Regions from separate parts of the Homo sapiens genome. Here regions 1, 3, 4, 5, 6 and 7 are each linked to region 2. Evidence: promoter capture Hi-C in 16 types of primary human blood cells and fetal thymus (Javierre and others, 2016). All regions are on one chromosome and are shown on one strand. The core of a region is centred on a gene start or on the middle of the fragment in contact, and the rest is flanking DNA. Distances in the headings are between cores, read along the strand shown.

The links. Contacts are between HindIII fragments. The CHiCAGO score rates a contact against its expected background, and 5 or more counts as called.
Region 1: a contact is called between a fragment that was not itself captured here and the fragment with the promoter of TGFB1I1 in region 2, in 7 of 17 cell types (naive CD8 T cells, total CD4 T cells, fetal thymus and 4 more). The highest score is 9.8, in naive CD8 T cells.
Region 3: a fragment that was not itself captured here is called in contact with the fragment with the promoter of TGFB1I1 in region 2 in 2 of 17 cell types (naive CD8 T cells and non-activated CD4 T cells); the score reaches 6.3 in naive CD8 T cells.
Region 4: a fragment that was not itself captured here is called in contact with the fragment with the promoter of TGFB1I1 in region 2 in 1 of 17 cell types (non-activated CD4 T cells); the score reaches 5.9 in non-activated CD4 T cells.
Region 5: a fragment that was not itself captured here is called in contact with the fragment with the promoter of TGFB1I1 in region 2 in 12 of 17 cell types (neutrophils, naive CD8 T cells, M0 macrophages and 9 more); the score reaches 15.9 in neutrophils.
Region 6: the fragment with the promoter of PRSS36 here is called in contact with the fragment with the promoter of TGFB1I1 in region 2 in 4 of 17 cell types (monocytes, naive CD8 T cells, endothelial precursors and 1 more); the score reaches 8.1 in monocytes.
Region 7: a contact is called between a fragment that was not itself captured here and the fragment with the promoter of TGFB1I1 in region 2, in 4 of 17 cell types (M1 macrophages, activated CD4 T cells, M2 macrophages and 1 more). The highest score is 7.1, in M1 macrophages.

What each region holds. Positions count from the first base shown.
Region 1 is chr16:31,070,683-31,073,418 of GRCh38, forward strand. The region is part of intron 1 of ZNF668 (zinc finger protein 668); the gene reads right to left. It also overlaps a transcript of ZNF646 not described here. Among named protein-coding and RNA genes, the nearest start is that of ZNF668, 2.2 kb to the right of the region's middle. RefSeq lists enhancers at 2,434-2,736, 2,526-2,736 and a silencer at 2,709-2,736. The HindIII fragment of the contact is 265 bases long and covers 1,124-1,388 here.
Region 2 is chr16:31,470,778-31,473,477 of GRCh38, forward strand. It overlaps TGFB1I1 (transforming growth factor beta 1 induced transcript 1), which reads left to right and starts at 1,375. Exons shown (of 11, transcript NM_001042454.3): 1 at 1,375-1,424; 2 at 2,664-2,700. The coding sequence starts at 1,412. RefSeq lists an enhancer at 1,714-2,254. The HindIII fragment of the contact is 20,246 bases long and covers 1-2,700 here.
Region 3 is chr16:31,124,747-31,127,446 of GRCh38, forward strand. KAT8 (lysine acetyltransferase 8) reads left to right here. Exons shown (of 11, transcript NM_032188.3): 4 at 2,289-2,342; 5 at 2,443-2,607. Among named protein-coding and RNA genes, the nearest start is that of KAT8, 8.4 kb to the left of the region's middle. The HindIII fragment of the contact is 7,764 bases long and covers 1-2,700 here.
Region 4 is chr16:31,174,504-31,177,203 of GRCh38, forward strand. It overlaps the pseudogene NDUFA3P6. Among named protein-coding and RNA genes, the nearest start is that of FUS, 4.3 kb to the right of the region's middle. The HindIII fragment of the contact is 8,665 bases long and covers 1-2,700 here.
Region 5 is chr16:31,882,372-31,885,071 of GRCh38, forward strand. It overlaps ZNF267 (zinc finger protein 267), which reads left to right. Exons shown (of 4, transcript NM_003414.6): 2 at 2,127-2,253. Among named protein-coding and RNA genes, the nearest start is that of ZNF267, 9.9 kb to the left of the region's middle. The HindIII fragment of the contact is 4,868 bases long and covers 1-2,700 here.
Region 6 is chr16:31,148,616-31,151,315 of GRCh38, forward strand. It overlaps PRSS36 (serine protease 36), which reads right to left and starts at 1,451. Exons shown (of 15, transcript NM_173502.5): 1 at 1,384-1,451; 2 at 1,081-1,116; 3 at 848-883; 4 at 458-620; 5 at 1-60. The coding sequence starts at 1,420. RefSeq lists enhancers at 85-622, 623-1,158, 1,159-1,695. The HindIII fragment of the contact is 9,446 bases long and covers 1-2,700 here.
Region 7 is chr16:31,837,983-31,840,682 of GRCh38, forward strand. No RefSeq gene overlaps it. Among named protein-coding and RNA genes, the nearest start is that of ZNF267, 34 kb to the right of the region's middle. The HindIII fragment of the contact is 2,976 bases long and covers 1-2,700 here.

The DNA of each region.
Region 1 (2,736 bases), core at 6-2,505, 400 kb before region 2:
GGCATCCACCACCACGCCTGGTTAATTTTTTGTATTTTTAGTAGAGATGGAGTTTCACCATGTTGGCCAGGCTGGTCTCGAACTCCTGACCTCAGATGATCCACTGCCTCGGCTTCCCAGAGTGCTGGGATTACAGGCATGAGCCACCGTGCCTGGCTTATTTTTATTTATTTTATTATTTATTGTTATTATTATTTGAGACAGAGTCTCCCTCTGTTGCCCAGGCTGGAGTGCAATGGTGTGATGTCAGTTCACTGCGACCTCTGCCTCCTGGGTTCAAGCAATTCTTCTGCCTCAGCCTCCCAAGTATTTGGGATTACAGGTGCCTGCCACCACAGCCAGCTAATTTTTTGTATTTTTAGTAGAGATGGCCATGTTGGCTAGGCTGGTCTGGAACTCCTGACCTCAGGTGATCCACCCACCTTGGCCTCCCAAAGTGCTGGGATTACAGGCTTGAGCCACCATGCCCGGCCTATTTATTTCATTTTTATTTATTTATTTTCTTTGAGAGAAAGTCTTTGTTGCCCAGGCTGGAGTGCAGTGGCTGCATCTCAGCTCACTGCAGCCTCCACCTCCCGGATTCAAGTGATTCTCCAGCCTCAGCCTCCCGAGTAGCTGGGACTACAGGCGAAAGCCATCACACCTGGCAAACTTTTGTATTTTTAGTAGAGACAGGGTTTCACCACATTGGCCACGCTGGTCTCGAACTCCTGACCTCAAGTGATCCGACCGCCTCAGCCTCCCAAAGTGCTGGGATTACAGGCGTGAGCCACCGTGCCTGGCCTTTATTTTTATTTAGAGATTGGGTCTCACTCTGTCACCCTGGAGTGCAGTGGCTCAATCATAGCTCACTTCAGCCTCAAACTCCTGCACTCAAGCAATCCTCCTGAGTAGCTAGGACTATAGGCACCCACCACCACACCTCGCTAATTTATTAAAAATTCTTTGTATATAGAGATGGAGGTCTCACTACGCTGCCGACAGTGGTCTCAAGAACTCCTGGCTTCAGATGCTCCTCCACTATGGCTTCCTAAAGTGCTGTGATTACAGGCATGAGCCACAGTGACCAGCACCCCTCCTCTCTAATTTCCTTTATGGTGTCATCTGGACAATACTCCTTGCAAGCTTACCATGGGCAAGGTATCATTCTAAGCATTTTGTGCATAATACTCAACTACTCAAGCCAACTGCACAGCTGCCTAGCAGTTCATTATGAGTGAATGTTTGTGTTCCCTGTCCATTCATATATTGAAATTCTAACTCTCATTGTGACTGTATTTGGAGACAAGGCCTTTATGGAAGTAATTAAGGCTGAATGACGTCATAAGGGTATGGCCCTGGTCCAGTAGGATTAGCGTTCTTATGAGAAGTGACACCACAAAGAAACAAGCTTACTAGTCACGGTCCCAGCCAGTGTTCAAATCCCAAACACCTGCTCTCTGAGCCCTGACTATTGCTTTGCTAGCATTACACATCTTATGGTTTGGCTGTTAATTCTTCATCACCAGCACCAGAGTCCAGGCTGGCAAAGGGCTAGGAAACCGATCATCTGCCTCCTCTACACCCAGAACCCTGTGTGGTGACCCAAAACAAATGGAAAGAACCAACCTCAGATGAAATTTGAACCCAGGTCTGTAGCCTCTGCCTCCTCCACAGTAGGAGTTTGTGAGAATGTCCACCAATAACTGTTTATTAACTAAATTCCTCCACCTTTCCAACTCCACAAGGCTCAACTATTGCCCCAATATCCCACAGTGGGCTCCCTGTCGTGGCGATGAAGCCTTGCTTTGCCTCACTACTGGCTTAGGAAGGGGATGAAGTTCTGCTGTCTCACTAGGCAAGCAAAGATTCAATTTCCAAAAATCCTAGGCTAGGACCCTGGGGCAGGGATGAGGAGAAAAAGGAGGCACCTCAATCTTCCCATCTCTAAACAAGCAGTCACCACACAGGCCTCACGGCCAGGAGTGACGTAGTGAGCGGATGAACCCTGCAGAAGTGAGCGCTAATCATATCCTAGGCCTCCTACCGGGCCAGTTCACAACCTGATCCCAACCTACTTTTCCAGCCTCAGCTCCAGCGACAGAGTCCTCCTCCCGGCAGCGACCGAACCTCCAGCCACAATTCTCAATCCTCCACCTCTAGATGCAGTTTCCTGGGCTCGGGGAGCCCTTGCCTGCCTTCTCCAACGGGAAAGCCCCTTTACATCCTTCAAGAACCCCCTTCCCTAGTGCCCTCAGGAATACTTTATGGCAGTAGAGAGGTAAGGGCCCCACGCCGCTCTGGACCTCAGTTTCCTCATCAGTAAAATGGGGTCCCTTAAGTTTGTGGGAGTTTGAAGGGCGGTGGGGCCTACGAAGCGCGCCGAGGAGCCGAGAGTTGCAGAAACCCGGAGCTCCTCGCTCCTCGCAACCGTCTGTACGCGGCGCCCCCGCCAGCCAGGCAGCCCCTGGAGGGCAGGACCCCGGTTATAAGCCTCAGAAAACGTGGCTTCGGAGGACGTGGCAAGGAGGACTGAACGAAGGATGAGGAGATGAACAAATGAATGGACGGAAGGCCGAATGAGGGACAAAGGCTTGCAAGATGGCGTTCTCTAGGACCGCGGGAGTGGTGGCCGGGCCTCAGCAGGGGAGGGGGCCGCCGGCGCCTGGGATCTTGCAGCGCGGGCCACGCGACCGGGACAAAAACCCAAAACATGGCGGGCTCTAGGACCCCCGGGACCACACCGCGCCGGGCCAG
Region 2 (2,700 bases), core at 125-2,624:
GTTGAGGATCTTTTCATGTAATCATTGGCTATTTATATAACTTCTTTGAACTGTCTATTCAGGTCGTTTGCCCATTTTTTCTTCTTTTTCTTTTTTATTCTTGACACAGGGTCTCCTCTGTTGCTCAGGAGTTCAGTGGCACAATCTCAGCTCACTGCAGCCTCTGCCTCCAGGTTTCAAGCAATTCTCCTGTCTCAGCCTCCCAAGTAGCTGGAATTACAGGCTCCCACCACCACGCACAGCTAATTTTGTGTTTTTAGTAGAGATGGGGTTTTGTCATGTTGGCCAGGCTGGTCTCGAACTCCTGACCTCAAGTGACCTGCCCGCCTTGACCTCCCAAAGTGCTAGGATTATAGGTGTGAGCCACCATGCCTGTCTCGCATTTTTAAAAAGCTCCCCAGGTTGTTCCGATTTGCTGCTGGGTTGATACTCACATTCCAGTGCTCAGATCTGTCCAGAAGAGTGGCTGCAGCACAGTTGTCTGTCCATAACTACCTCTATGGCCTCTCGTTTCCACCTCGTTTCTCAGGGTCTCAGTCCAGGGAAGGCCTTGCCACTTTGTGGCTGGAGACTGTGTCTTGCTTTCTGCTCTGAGTTCATCAGTAACTTGGGAAAGGGCTGTTTCAGAGCAGGCCTGGGCCACCTCAGTGCTGAGGAAGGGCTTTGTCTTGCAGGCTGGCTGGGGGTTGGTTGCCTGGGAGTGTTTTCCCCGAATTTGCAAGGGGCTTGCGCCCGGGTTCGAGTTTACGTGTGTCCATGACCAAGTCTTGGAGGGAAGGTCCTAGTGTAGAGTCTGTGGGTGGGTTCACTGTGTCTGTCCCCGTCCCTCAGATTTCTTTGTGTCTGGTATGTATGCCTCTTGGGGCCTCTATTTATCTGTCAGGGTCTCCGATGGGAGGGTCTCCGAACCTGAGGTCTAATTGAGCCTTAGAATATCACTCCTGCTACCAATCCAAAAATTCCGTCTGGGACAAGTCTCCCAGGAATGGCATGGGTGGGAGGGAGGCTCTTGTCTAGGACTCAGGCGCTAGCTTTGAGCGGTGTCTGTTTGGGGGCCTCAGTCCGTGTCTGTAAGTCTCCCTAGGGAGCGGCTCTGGGGCTTGGTCTGGAGAAGCCACTTCTCTCTGGCTCTGGCCTCCTGGGGCTCCCTGCAGCTGAGGCCAAGGCTGGGGTGTGGCCGCCTCCGCGGCAGGCCGGCGGGCTGGGCTCGGGTGGGCCGGGGCGCTCCCTCCTTTCCACGCCCCCACCTCGGGTTCCCCCGTTCATCGCCCCCCCATCCCCATCTCAGCGGGTCCCGGCTTCCTTACATGGTCACGGCCGGGCTTCCAGCTCCCGGACGTCCCCCGCCCCCCGCCCCCACCGGACACGGCCCCCGCCCTGTTCGCCCCGCGCCACCGGCCCGCGCCCCGCCATGGAGGACCTGGGTGAGTGGGGCCGGATCCCCGGGTCCGTGGCCCCTCACCGCTGCCCAGAGCTGCCTCCCCGCCGTCGCTCTCCCGCATCTCCCCATCCCTGTCTTCTTACTTCTGCTTTTCGCCTCTGCCCGCGCCTCCTTTCCAACTCCACGTCCCCCTTCCTGCCTCTCCCTTCCTGCCTTTCCTGGGCCGGCCGCTCCCTCCCTTCTTCCCTCGCTGTGCTCCTCCATCCCAGGCTGCGGCAGATGGAACGGGAGGTGCGGCGCCCGCGGGCGCCCGGGCGCGGGGCTCTGGGGAGGGAGGGGTTAAAGGGGCCTCGGCCCGGGGACCGGGAAAGTAGAGGGCACGGGAAAGTCTGGCATCAAGTTTTGGAGAAAAAAAGCGGGCCTGCCTGCACCAGAGTTTTGGGAGAGGAGGAGTTAAGGGCTCCTGAGCACAGTGAGGGTCAGGTCCTTGAGGCAAGGAAGAGAATAGTAACTCAGGAGTGCCTAGGCGCCCGCGAAGGCTTCAGGGTTTCACGCGGGTGCTCAGAGACGAAGACTGAGGGCAGGACTTCTGGGTTCTGGAAGTGAAAGGGCTCAAAAGACCCGGATCTGGGGATGCAGGGATGGAGAGAGGTGTCTTGTCCGGAAGGGGGACCCAGGTATCTCGTCCTCCCTGCGAAGCCTGGGGCTGGAAGGCTGTGCGCTCCACGGGAGAGAGGGGCTTCCGGCCCCTGGCGGTAGAGGGCGCTGCTCGGTAGGGGTAACTGACGCTGTACCGCAGATAAACAGCCAATCAGAAGGCAGGTCCCAGCGAAGCGCCAGTGAGGAGCCCAGGGCGGGACTCAGGGGCCTGGGAGTGGCCAGGCTGGGCGGGGCCTGTGTAGGTAGAGGGAGGAGTTAACCAGCATGGAAGAGAGAGCGTCCAATCAGAAAGCTGAGGGCCAGGCACTGGGCCAATGGAGCAATTTGGAGGGGAGCCAAATTTGGCTTGGGTGAAGAGCCCATTTTGACTGCATCAGAGAAGATGGGGAGAATAAAATAATCAGGAGGCTGGGTTTGTGCTTGGCTCCAAGCGTGAGCAACTGGGATATTCTGGTCATAAATATTCCTTGCTACCCTTCGAGCAGTGCTCTGCCTGGCTCTGGCCCTGTGACCTCTTCTCTTAATACTGGCTTCTGTCCTTCTCCAGTACTGCCCACTGGGAACCTTATCTTCTGATCTAACCGTGACCCTTGTCTCTCTCCCTGATGGCCTCTTCCTGCAGATGCCCTGCTCTCTGACCTGGAGACTACCACCTCGCA
Region 3 (2,700 bases), core at 170-2,669, 350 kb before region 2:
AAAAAGGCTATGGCTCATGCCTGTAATCCCAGCACTTTGAGAGGCCAAGGTGGGTGGATCATCTGAAGGTCAGAAGTTCAAGACCAGCCTGGCCAACATGGTGAAACCCCATCTCTACCAAAAATACAAAAAATTAGCCGGGCTTGCTGGTGGGCGCCTGTAATCCCAGCTGCTTGGGACACTGAGGTGGGAAGATCGCTTGAACTCAGGAGGTGGAGGTTGTAGTGAGCCAAGATTGCACCATTGCTCCAGCCTGGGCAACAAGAGCAAAATTTCATCTCAAAAAACAAAATAAATTAGCTGGGAATGGTAGCAGGCACATGTAGTCTCAGCCACTTGGGAGGCTGACGTAGGAGAATCACTTAAGCCCAGAAGGCAGAGGTTGTGGTGAGCTGAGATCTCCCCACTGCACTCCAGCCTGGGCGACAGAGTGAGAGTCTATCTCAGAAGAAAAAAAAAAAAACATGTCTGTGCCGTGCTTGCCACTTGGAATAAATGGCAGCTCACTAGTCCCCGAGGGTAAGGGACCTCACCTTGCCCTGCCTGTTTACTACTCTGTAAAATTGAAATAACGCAGCTGGGTGCAGTGGCTCACGCCTGTAATCTCAGCACTTTGGGAGTGCGAGGCTGGTTGATCACCTGAGGTCAGGAGTTTGAGAACAGCCTGGCCAACATGGCGAAACTCCATTGCTACTAAACATACAAAAATTACCTGGATGTGGCGGCATGTGCCTGTAGTCCCAGCTACTTGGGAGGCTGAGGCAGGAGAATTGCTTGAACCTGGGAGGCGGAGGTTGCAGTGAGCCGAGATGGTGCCACTGTACTCCAGCCTGAGCAACAGAGTGAGACTCCGTCTCAAAAAAAAAAAAAAAAAAAAAAGAAATAACACTCTATGTAAGGGTTACTGAAAGGATTAAATGAGGCCATATAAACATATAGGCACAGTGCTTTGTGGAGGGGGTTCTGGGTAAAGCACTGGCTCCTTCCTCCCTTCTCAGCTACAGGGCAGGGCCTTGTCTGCCCTGGTGTAGGTCATGGACCGTCTTGGGTCCCCCTTCCATTGTCAGGCTGTACTGGGTTCCTCCCACAGGGTCTGGCCTAGGAGCAGGATGTGTTGTGAGTGTGGTGTGACTCTTAGTCTCTGCTTTCTAAGGACTTGAAAAATAGAGGAACCCAGGTGGGCATACTTGGACAGTGTTGCCCTGTTGACCACTTCTCGCTGAACTTGGGAAGGAGGGAATGTTTTCTGGATGGGAAGAATCCAGTCAGGCCTCCTGGAGGGGGTGGTAAGAATCTCAAGCCTTGAAGGATGGGAAAGAGCACAATAACAACAGTGACAAAGGATAGATCACAAAGCATCATGGACTCACCTGACTCATGCTCCGTGCCAGGCTGAGGAAGTGTTTTCTGCTGGCAGTGAGAGAAGGAAGGGCATTCTCCAGGTAGAAGGAGCTGTTTGTGCAGAAGCATGAAGGCCGCTAAAAGGGGGCTGCTGATAGCAATGAGGAGGCTGGGGCTGGAGGCAGGGAGTCTGAGGCGGCCTAGTAAATTGTCCAGACCTGAGATGGGGCCATGACTACCTGGAGCAGGACAGAGAGGAGAATTCCAGAGAGGGCCCAATTCCAGAGATGTCAGAAGTAGACTCGACATCCACTGTATTAGGACTTGGCCAGGCCGAGGGAGAGAGAGTAGTCTGAGGCAAGCCTAGTTATGGGTCTTGGACACTGGGACCAAGGGTGATGTTCCCAGTAAAATGAGCAACCCAGGAGGAGGCGCAGGTTTGCAGGGAGGAGTGATGAGGTCCTTTCTGCACATCTTGAGTCCGCTGTCCCTGTGGGAGGGACCTCTGGGGCAGTCGCATGGGCAGGCAGGGTCTGGTCCTCAGGAAAGGGGTCCAGGAACATCGGGGAGGTAGTAACAGTTCTTACGCTGGGCCTGGAAGGCAAATCTGTTATTTCATTTGAGTCTCACAACTTTGGCAGAGCTGGATTGCCCCCCATCGTGCAGCTGAAGCCCCATCCTGATCCTAACCCTGTTCATCTGGCAAAAGGTCCAAACTTGGACATCAGGGATGTCTGGGATATCGGGGGTGGGGCGGGTGGGTGTGAGAGGAGTCTGGACCAGCCAGCTTCAGAACCAAGTCAGATAGGTTAGCTATTGGTGTGGTTATTATTGCCATCCAGGAATGAGGTCTGGTAGACGGCAGGGAAGCCTTGTGGGTCCTGACGGGAGGGACAGCCTGGTCACCACTTCTGTTCACCTCTGCCCACTTTTCTTTCCTGGCCCAGACTTATGCAGAGATGGACCCCACCACAGCAGCCTTGGAGAAGGAGCATGAGGCGGTAAGTGGGGCTGGGAAGCTGCCTGCAGGTCCCCCGTCTCCCCTTGCCGAGGAGCCCCTGCTGAGCCGTGCACTGTGCCTCACTCCCACCCTGCCTGCAGATCACCAAGGTGAAGTATGTGGACAAGATCCACATCGGGAACTACGAAATTGATGCCTGGTATTTCTCACCATTCCCCGAAGACTATGGGAAACAGCCCAAGCTCTGGCTCTGCGAGTACTGCCTCAAGTACATGAAATATGAGAAGAGCTACCGCTTCCACTTGGTGAGGCTGGGCCGGCCGGGCCGAGCTGGGCAGGGGCCCGGTGAGAGGCAGAGGCAGGCATGGAGACTGAGGGCGGCTGCGCCGGCAGCTCCA
Region 4 (2,700 bases), core at 29-2,528, 300 kb before region 2:
GTGACAGAGCAAGACTCAATCTCAAAAAAAAAAAAAAAGGCCGCTGTCATCACCACCGAGACCAAGAAGGCCACGAGACTCAGCACCTTCCTCAAGATTTCCTGGGCCAAGGAGCCAGTGCTGGTCTTGTCCTCTGTCATCCGGAGCCTCACTGTAATTCTACCCCCACTTAGTCCCCACACCAAGTACTCCATCATGATCAACGAGGCAAGGCCCTACAACTACCCAGTGCCTGTCTGCAATGATGGGAACATGCCCGATGTGCCCAGCCACCCCCAGGACCCCCAAGGCCCCAGTTTGGAGTGGCTGAAGAAATTGTGAGCACCTCCACTGCCAAAGGAGGACCCTCCCATGGCTCCCACTAGAAATGTGAAAACCAACCTCTCCCTGCTCAAAAAAAAAAGAAAAGAAAAAGAAAAATTGCATTAAATATTTGATCTAGGCCAGGCGCAGTGGCTCATGCCTGTAACTGTAACTCTAGCACTTTGGGAGGCCGAGGCAGGAAGATTGCTTGAGGCCAGGGGTTCAAGACAAAACTGGCCAACAAAATGAGACCTTGTCTTTAAAAAATAAATTCTGGGGCTGGGCGCAGTGGCTCATGCTTGTAACAGCACTTTGGGAGGCCGAGGAGGGGTGGATCACGAGGTCAGGTGTTTGAGACCAGCCTGGCCAACATAGTGAAACCCCGTCTCTACTAAAAAAAAATACAAAAAATTAGCCAGGCGTGGTGGCGGGTGCCTGTAATCCCAGCTACTTGGAGGCTGAGGCAGGAGAATCGCTTGAACCTGGGAGGCAGATATTGCAGTGAGCCGAGATCGCGCCATTGCACTCCAGCCCAGGCAACAGTGCGAGACTCCATCTCAAACAAATATATATAAATATAAATAAATATATATATATATGTAACTTCCTGGCACGATGGCACAGACCTGTAATCCCAGCACTTTGGGAGGCCGAGGCGCGTGGATCAGGAGGTCAGGAATTCAAGACCAGCCTGGCCAAGATGGTGAAACCCTGTTTCTACTAAAAATACAAAAAATTAGCCAGGCGTAATGGTGGGAGCTTGTAATCCCAGATACTCGGGAGGCTGAGGCAGAGAACTGCAAACTCCGGAGGCGGAGGTTGCAGTGAGCTGAGATTGTGCCACTGCACTCCAGCCTGGGTGACAGAGGGAGACTCTGTCTCAAAAAAACAAACAAAAAAATTAAATAAATAAATTAAAACTAACTAACTAAATAAATATCTGGATATCTGAGCTGGGTGCAGTGGCTCATGCCTCTAATCCCAGCACTTGGGAAAGCAAGGCAGGCAGATCATTTGAGGTCAGGAGTTCGAGACCAGCCTGGCCAACATAGGGAAACCTCATCTCTACTAAAAAAATTAGTTGGGTGTGGTGGTGCACATCTGTAATCCCAGGTACTCAGGAGGCTGAGGCAGGAGAATTGCTGGAACCTGGGAAGTAGAGGTTGCAGTCAGCTGAGATTGCAGCACTGCTCTCCAGCCTGGGTGACAGAGTGAGACTCTGTCTCAAAAAAAAATCAATATCTGATATACGTGTTTATTTTTTTATTGAGATGGAGTCTTGCTCTGTCGCCCAGGCTGGAGTGCAATGGCACAATCTCTGCTCACCGCAACCTCTGCCTCCCTGGCTCAAGCAATTCTCCTGCCTCAACCTCCCGAGTAGCTGGGACTACAGATGCGCGCCACCATGCCCGGCCAATTTCTGTATCTCTAGTAGAGATGGGGTTTCACCAGGTCGGTCAGGCTGGTCTCGAACTCCTGACCTCATGATCTGCCCACCTCAGCCTCCCAAAGTGCTGGGATTACAGGTGTGAGCGAACGCATCTGGCCCAATATCTGATATACATGTTAATTGAAACTGGGTGTGGTGGTCACACCTTTAATCACAGCACTTTGGGAGGATTCCCTTGAGCCTAGGAGTTCAAGACCAGCCTGGGCAACATAGCAAGACCCTGTCTCAAAAAAGAAAAATTTAACATTGACTTTCCTGTCAGAGATAGGAAGTAAATAAGACATTTATGGTGAACTTAAAGCACATATGGCAGCTAAAGGTGACAGTGTCTCACTCCAGCTGACCCTTGCCCTATGGAAGTGGGCCTGGAATGGCCCACTATTTTTAGTGTTGGCAACTAGTTAAAAAAATTAAAACATTCGAGGCAGGTGGATCACTTGAGATCAGGAGTTCGAGAACAGCCTGGGCAATATGGTGAAACCCCGTCTCTACTAAAAATAGGAAAATTAGCTGGACATGGTGATGCATGCCTGTAATCTCAGCTACTCGGGAGGCTGCAGCACAAGAATTGCTTGAACCCGGGAGGCAGAGGTTGCAGTGAGCTGAGATCACGTCACTGCACTCCAGCCTGGGTGACAGAGTGAGACTCCATCTCAAAAAAAAAAAAAAAAGAAAGAAAGAAATGGCCATTTGATTTAGTCTTTCAGAGTCACATATTTTTTTTTTTTTGAGGCCGAGTCTCATCTGCCACCATGCCCAGCCCAGAGTCACAGCTGGAGCCTGAACTCTGCCTCAGTGTCTTCCCCACTTGTGCCTTTGTCTTCGCGGTTCTGCCTATTATAGCCTTTCCTCCCTTGCTGCTTGGCAAACTTCTACTTATCCAGTAAGCCTTGGCTTCAGGGTTACCATCTCTCTTTAGTGTTCTGTGGTTGTCCACCTGATGGATG
Region 5 (2,700 bases), core at 5-2,504, 410 kb after region 2:
GATTAGAGTATTGGGCGTAAGGGACTCTGTGCTGTGTCTGCTTCCTCTAGCTGAGTGCTATTGATAATGGGTCTAGGAGGAGCAACATCAGCATTGACAGGGGACTTGTTAAAGAAGCCAGTTCATGGAAACTTTCCAAACCTGCAGAATCACATTACTTAGAGGGGGCCCAGAATACCAAATGATATGTATGCGTATTGAACCTTGAGAGGCAATGCTTAGCTAAGTGATTCTCAGCCCAGGCTTCTAAGTAGGGTCACATAACCAGTTTGAAGATCTATGGTCACCTGTATCTTCCCCCACAGATTGTTTTTTTATGATTATATTAAGATTATGATTTACTGTTCCCCTCCGCCCATATCACAGCAATGATTATGGGCCCATCTGTGCATTAGCACTGGTACCAATTTGTCTTATTACAGACGATGCTAACTTCATTCACTTGGTGCAGGTGCTCTCTGTCAGATTCCTTCGCTATAAAGTTAATCATTTTTCTCTTTGTAATGAGTATCTAGGAGGGAGGATTTACTGAGTGATGTCTATAAACCATCACATTTAATCCAGAGACTCCCATTTCTTTTTGGTTTCCCTTTGCTTGTAGCTTTCTTTGCAGAGTAAAGGCTCTCACATTTGTTGACAGGAGATAACAGCTTTTAAGACTGGAAGTTCTGAAGCAGGTCTCAGTTCTGTAGGTTTCCATTTTATTTCATCTCATGTCACAAGCATATGCTTATTTATTCTCTATATTTTCAGAGAAAGAACAAGAATTAACATATAACAAATATGTCTATTGTCTTAAAATTCTAAAATATATAATAGCACATAGAATAAACATAACAAAAACTTGAAAAAAAATACCAGACTCAGAAACAAGAGCCTTTACTTTATTTCATTGTATGTATTGGTCTTTATAAAGGCATCACAAAAAAGGCATCACCCACAAAGAGTTTTATAGTTTTTATACAATTTAAAATATTTTTAAATTTTATTTACACAGAAATATTATCTTACTTTTAGTGTGTATATAGTTACCATTATGTGCACATATGCACATAAAATGAAAGCATTATTCGATCACTATTGTGTGGCTGCTTTCTTGTTTTCGTTACTCAGTTACGAAATCTTCTCTGAACATTCTGTTAAGGTTGTCTCTGTATATTGGCCGGTATGTCCCTTTGAGATAAATTCTAAATCAGATAAACTGAGGCAAAATACAAACTACTATGTAGCAAATATTTGGAAAATAATTTTTATATAAGAGGAAGAATATAATTTTTCTCAGATTATTTATTGGGTTTTATATATGTAAACAACTTTTAGGATGATATCTGATATATTGTGCATGTTCAAAAAGGATTACTACCATTCTAGCTGTTATAACTTGTAAATTTCATAAAACTCTCAGTTTCACATCATGCCTGAATTCTTTCCTCAGTGTTCGACCTCTCTGCTATTCAAAAGTGGCTTTGGGGCCTGAAGCATTAACACTACTGGTGAACTTGTTAGACATGCAGATACTCAGCCAGCCATGGTGGCTCATGCCTGTAGCCTTAGCTACTCAGGAGGCTGAAACAGGAGGATCGCCTGAGCCCAGGAGGTTGAGGCTGCAGTGAGCCAAGATTCAACCACTGCACTCCAGCCTGGGTGGCAGAGCGAGACCCTGTGTCAAAATTAAAAATTAAAAAATATGGAAATGCAGAAACTCAAAATCTAGATCTCCTGAATCAGACTCTGCCTTTGAAGAAGATCTCCAGTTTATTGTTGTATACTATACAATTTGAGAAGTATGCCTCTAAGTCACCATGACTTTTGCACCTGAGAATTATACACAGCTGATTCTGGATGATGTAAATATAGCACCCAAAAATGTATATTCCTGTGTTGATGCCTTAGTTTTATATTTTACATTTGATATAAATATCTACACTAGTTTTGTGGATTTTATGTTATTTTCTTTCCACAGAGTTTGAGACTACATTAGAAAATATTACTGTGTTAAAAATGATCTTACTGAATAATTCAGGTCACTCATATATGTCAGAACCAATAACTGTCATTTCATCTTGGGACAAATGAAGAACTCTGCCATGGCCACATGGTCAGTGTATTCTTTATTTTTATTTCAGGGACTGTTGACATTCAGGGATGTGGCCGTAGAATTCTCTTTGGAGGAGTGGGAACACCTGGAACCAGCTCAGAAGAATTTGTATCAGGATGTGATGTTAGAAAACTACAGAAACCTGGTCTCTCTGGGTGAGGATAACTTGCCTTCGGAATATCTAATAACTAAGAGTTTTATTTTCTTTTCAGAATGTCCCTTGGGATCTTGTGCTTTGTATGAGTTAGTTTTAGATTCTTGTTTTCAGGAAAAAAATAGGGGTTTTGTTGAAGTAGAAAAAATTTCATAATGTTTGATTTTGACATTCGCCTTTTTATTTGAGGTGATGTACAAGTTTCACTCTAGTCGTGATTCTAGAAATTGGTTGACATAAACTATTGTTGCTTACACTTTAAAATCCAATTTTTTTTGTTTGTTTTTGATTCAGTCAGATTTGCAGAAGCTCAGGATCCCCAGATTTAAAATGCTTCCTAAATATTCTAAAGAAGCTGGTAGGAAACAATATTTTGAGAAATACTTTTCAAGAATCTTCTATAATGTCTTATTTTTTCTACTGAGCACAGTACTAAGTTAGAAATTAA
Region 6 (2,700 bases), core at 201-2,700, 320 kb before region 2:
TCCTGGGAGTGCACGCCCAGCAGTACCGACCACTCGGCCGCGGGCTCCAGCGTCCCATTCCTGCGCTCGACCGGGGCAGTAGGAGGTTAGGTTGACCCTATGGAGGGGGCAGACCCTCGTTGGGGGCAGGGGCTCAGAGCCAGAGGGGCAGGTGCTATCCGATCCAGATTTGGTGCTGATACTCCTCAAAGGGGAAGAGCAAATCCGATTTGGAGCTGGTGGTGGGGGGGTCATTGGAAAGATGGGATTCAGACCCGGATATTGAGTGGAGTGGTGGGACCAGTCCGGCAGCCTTGCCCCACTCGGAACCATGATGCCTCGAATAGCACCTCGCTTTGGGGACAGCTTGGCTCCAAATTATCCTTGAGGACGGAAGTGGGGCGGGAGGAGGGGACCAACTGCGGGGGCGGGGGCCAGCTTTTGGCGGAGAGGGGCCAGGACCAGGGCGAATACTCACGTCATGAAACAGTGAGCAGCGGAGAGGACCCAGGAGGGGGCGATGAGGGAGCCCCCGCAGATGTGGCCACCTCCATGGTGCAGGCTCACTTGCCAAGGCCAGGTGCCCGGCTGCGCGTTTGAGCCCCCCACGATGCGGGCCGAGGGCTCAGGGCGCCCGCAGTCTGCAACGGGGAGCCGTGGAAGCCAAAGCTCCCCTCGGGTTCCCCACTCCAGAAGCCCAGGTAACTCAGGACGAAGGCCCGTCCTCCACCCACTTCAGTTTGCCCCTCTGAACAAAGAACATAGAGGACCCAGGCTTGTCTACATTTCTGGTCTTTTCCACCTCCCTCATGGCCTGACCAGCCTTAGCCTCCTTTAAGGTCTGAGGGTGCCAAGGCCTCTTCCTTACCCAGATCTTCAGGTTCTTCCTGGGTAGGACTGAGAGCTGGGAGCCAGAGGGGAAAGAGAGGAGGACACTTGTGACTTCCAGGCCTGCACCGCCCAGCCCCACTTCCTGCTCTCCAACCCCCGACCCTATCTTCCCACTTCCCTGTCCGTTCAGCAACCCCTGCCAGCACCCATGCCAGTCCTCTGGTCTTTTCTGCCTCTGCACGTGACTTTCCCCCAGTCCGGCTACCTTACCTGAGTCCTGGAAGGCTCCTGGGATGGGACTGATGACTGGAAAGACAGAGGTAGGCAGGAAGAGGCTGGCGACTCGCACTCAGTATGTGCCCTCCCTGACTCCCTCCCCCAGCCTCCTAGCCTCCGTCTCCCCAGGGCACCCAGGCCTCCCTCTCCCTCCTCTGATACATCCTCGCCTTCTGCTGCCTCACTTCCTTCTCTCTGACTTCCTGCTCCCCACACAGAAACCAGGAATCCTGCTCTCCAGCCCCCCAGATGCCAGGACCCAGGCCCTTTGCAGCCACTCTTGTCCCCTGAGGTTACCAAGCATCACAAGGGGGAGGAGCAGGTGCCGGGCCATGGCGCTAGAGTCAGCGGAGGCAGAGCCAAGTGAAGGTCTGCTCCCTGCAGGGCTCTGTCACTGCCCAGGCAGCCCGTGACTCCTGATGGTCCCAGGGGCAGCCCCACCCTCCCTGGCTGGAGCCCATCTCTGGGAATCTGAGAGGATCTGGGGCTGGAAGGGGGAAGCTGGGGAGCCTGAAGGCCCCACCCAGAGCCCTGCGCACATCTCATGTCTCTGGAGGCCCAGGGTGGGGGTGGAGGACAGGTGTCCTAGCTCCTGGACACCTGTTGGGTGGGAGAGGGAGGGATGAAAAACACTGCAGGCAAAGGTCAAAGAGGAGGACAGTGTTCTGTGTCCTTGGTGAGCAGTGGCCCTTAGGACAGGGGAAGTGGCCCCTCACGGGCATGACTCATCGGAGACCTCACCTCTGTTTGGGGTGCGGCTGCCCCAGTGGCTTGGCCTTTTCTTCTCACACAGCTCTGGTTACTGGAGCTGCTGGCCAGGTCTGGGACAGGAGCCCTAGGGAATTCAATCCCATCCCAACAAAAGGATCACAGATTCCAGCAGGTTGGGCAGGGCATAGGGACCCTGGGAGGGGGCTGGGCAGGCTGGCGAGGCTGAAAAAGCCTCCACCCTGCTCTGTGTTCCAGTGACAATGCTCTTAGCTGCCCTGTCACTTACTCTGTGTGACTTTGGGAAAGTAACCCAACCTCTTGGTGTGTATCAGTAAGAGCCAGTTTAAGGGACATATGACTTGGCCGAGCACGGTGGCTCACTCCTGTGATCCTAACACTCTGGGAGACTGAGGTGGGAGGATTGCTTGAGGCTAGGAGTTCAAGACCAGCCTGGTCAACATAGCAAGACCCCATCTCTACAAAAAATTAAAAAATACAAAAATTATGAACTGCAGGGCGTGGTGGTGCACGTCTGTATCCCAGCTACTCGGGAGATGAGGTGGGAGGATTGCTTGAGCCTGGGAGGTCGAGGTTGCAGTGAGCTATGATTGTGCCACTGCACTCCAGCCTGGGTGACAAAGCGAGACCCTGTCTCAACAACAACAACAAAAAGAAAAAAAAAAAGAAGAATAAGAAGAAGAAAGAAACATATGGCTCTTCAAAGAGGAGTTGAAGAGAGTTTAAGGAAGAAACTATTTATAGAAGTGTAGGCAGGGTCAAAGGAAACCAAAGAGGCTGGGTGGCTCACGGCTGTAATCCCAGCACTTTGGTAGGCCGAGGCGGGCAGATCACCTGAGGTCAGGAGTTCAAGACCAGCCTGGCTAACTTGGAGAAGCCCCATCT
Region 7 (2,700 bases), core at 150-2,649, 370 kb after region 2:
AATTTACAAGGAACTCAAACAATCCAACAAAAAAATAATAAATAGTCCTGTTTAAAAGTGGAAAAAGGCTGGGCATGGTGGCTCATGCCTGTAATCCTAGCACTTTGGGAGCCTGGGGCGGGTGGATCACCTGAGGTCAGGAGTTTGAGACCAGCCTGAACAACATGGAGAAACCCCGTCTCTATGAAAAATGCAAAAATTAGCCAGGCGTAGTGGCGCATGCCTATAATCCCAGCTACTCAGGAGGCTGAGGCAGGAGAATCGCCTGAATCTGGGAGGTGGTTGCAGTGAGCCAAGATTATGCCAATGTACTCCAGGCTGGGCAACAAGAGCAAAACTCTATCTCGGGGAAAAAAAAAAAGTGGAAAAAGGACATGAATAGACATTTTTCAAAAGAAGATATTCAGATGGCCAGCAGACATATGAAAAAATGCTTAACATTACTGATCATCAGAGAAATGCGAGTTAAAACCACAATGAGAAATCATCTTACACTAGCCAGAATAGCTATCATTAAAAAGACAAGCCGGGCATGGTGACTCAACGCCTGTAATCTCAGCACTTTCGGGGGCTGACGCAGGCAGATCACGAGGTCCGGAGATCGAGACCATCCTGGCTAACACGGTGAAACCCCGTCTCTAATAAAAATAAAAAAAATTAGCCAGGCATGGTGGCACGCACCTGTAGTCCCAACTACTCAGGAGGCTGAGGCAGAAGAATTGCTTGAACCTGGAAGGTGGAGGTTGCAGTGAGCTGAGATTGTGCCACTGCACTCCAGCCTGGGTGACAGAGTGAGACTCCATCTCAAAAAAAACAAAAAAAAAAAGACAAAAAATAACAGCTGTTGGTGAGGATATAGAGAAAAAAGAACCCTTACACACCGTTAGTGGGAATGTAAATTAGTACAACCTCTGTGGAAAACAGTATGGAGATTTCTCAAAGAACTAAAAATAGAACTACAATTCAATCCAGCAATCCCACTACCTCGTATCTACGTAAAAGAAAATAAATTGTTATATCAAAAAGATACCTGCCCTTATATGTTTATTGCAGCACTATTCACAATAGCAAAGATATGGAATCAACCTAAGTGGCCATCAATAGATGACTGGATAAAGAAAATGTCACACATACACACACCATGGAATACTACTCGTGGAAGACAAAAAATTAATAAAGAAATGGGAAACTTGAATAACACTATACACCAAATAAACTTAACAGACATATACAAAACTTTTCACCCAACAGCAGAAGAATATATATTCTTCTTAAGCATACATGCCACATTCTGCAGCACAGTCTGGCAAGAGACACCTCCACCAGGTGGGACAGGGAAGTGAACACTGGACCCTCCCTTGGACCCCAGCACCAGCCCTTTACCCGACCCCAGTGAAACCCAGCACCAAGAAGGCCCCCATGACCCCAAAGTCCAGGCTGGCATCAGCAGACTGAGCTGCCAGGTCCACCAAGGCACTGGGTTGGATTCTGCATCCTCAAGCTCCAGGCCTTCCTGGAAGGCTTGGTCTCCAGGCCAGCCCCACCACCAGGCCAGCCCCAGTGGCCATGGGCCTCAGGCCTGCCCTAGCACAGGCCAACCTCTACAAACCCAGGCTCTCTGCCTCTCCTCACATTCTCAGGCTCCAGGCTAGCCTCACAGACTGTCTCTGGGCCTTCCCCAGTATCAGGCCAGCCCCAATTGACCCAGACTTTGAGCCACTCCCAGCACTAGGCTTCAATCTGCCCCAGCACCAGGCTGGCTCCACAGCCCTACATCATCAGGCCAGTACCCATGGACCAGCCTCCCGGACTACTCCAGGGTCCAGCCAAGCCCAGAGCCAGGTTCACCCCTTCAGCCCCAGGCTTCAGCCTGCCCCAGCCCTAAGTTGGCACCCTGTCATCACGCACCAACCTGGCATCCATGGACACAGGCTCCAGGACTGCCTCCATGGCCCCATGACCCAGGCCACCCCTCGAAGACCTAGCCTCCAGGCCAGCACTGCATACCCAGCTTCCAGACTATCCCCTATGGACCAGGCTCCAGGCCAGTATCCACAATCCCAGGCTCCAGACACACCCCTGCAAACCCAGGCTCTATGCCTGCCCCAGCACCAGGCTAGCCTTAGGCTTCAGTCTAGTCCCACGAACTTCAGACTCCAGTGAACCCAGGATCCATGCTCACCCAAGTGAACTCCAGTTCCAGGTCAGTCACTGCAACCTGAGGCTCCAGGACTACCCCTGCAGACACAGGCTCCGGCTATCCCTGGTAGACCCAGGCCCCAGGACCCTGCAGACCTAGGGCCACCCCAGCACTAGACCAGCTCCTTTGTATTCAGGCTCCAGTCCTATCCCAGTTAATCCAGTTTCCAGATGGCTTCACTGAAGAATTCTACCAACATTTTAAAAACTAAACCTTCTCAAACTCTTCAAATAAATTAAAGAAGAAGGAATACTTTCAAATTCGTTTTATGAGGCTAGCATTACCCTGATGCCAAAGCCAGACAAGGATACTACAAGAAAAGAAAATTACAGGCCAATATCTCTGATGAACATAAATGCAAAAATCCTCAGCAAAATACTAGCAAACAAAATTCAACAGCACATTAAAAAGATTATTCACCATGATCACATGGAATTTGTCACAGAGATGCAAGGATGATTCAACACACACAAATCTATAAATGTAATACACACTACAGT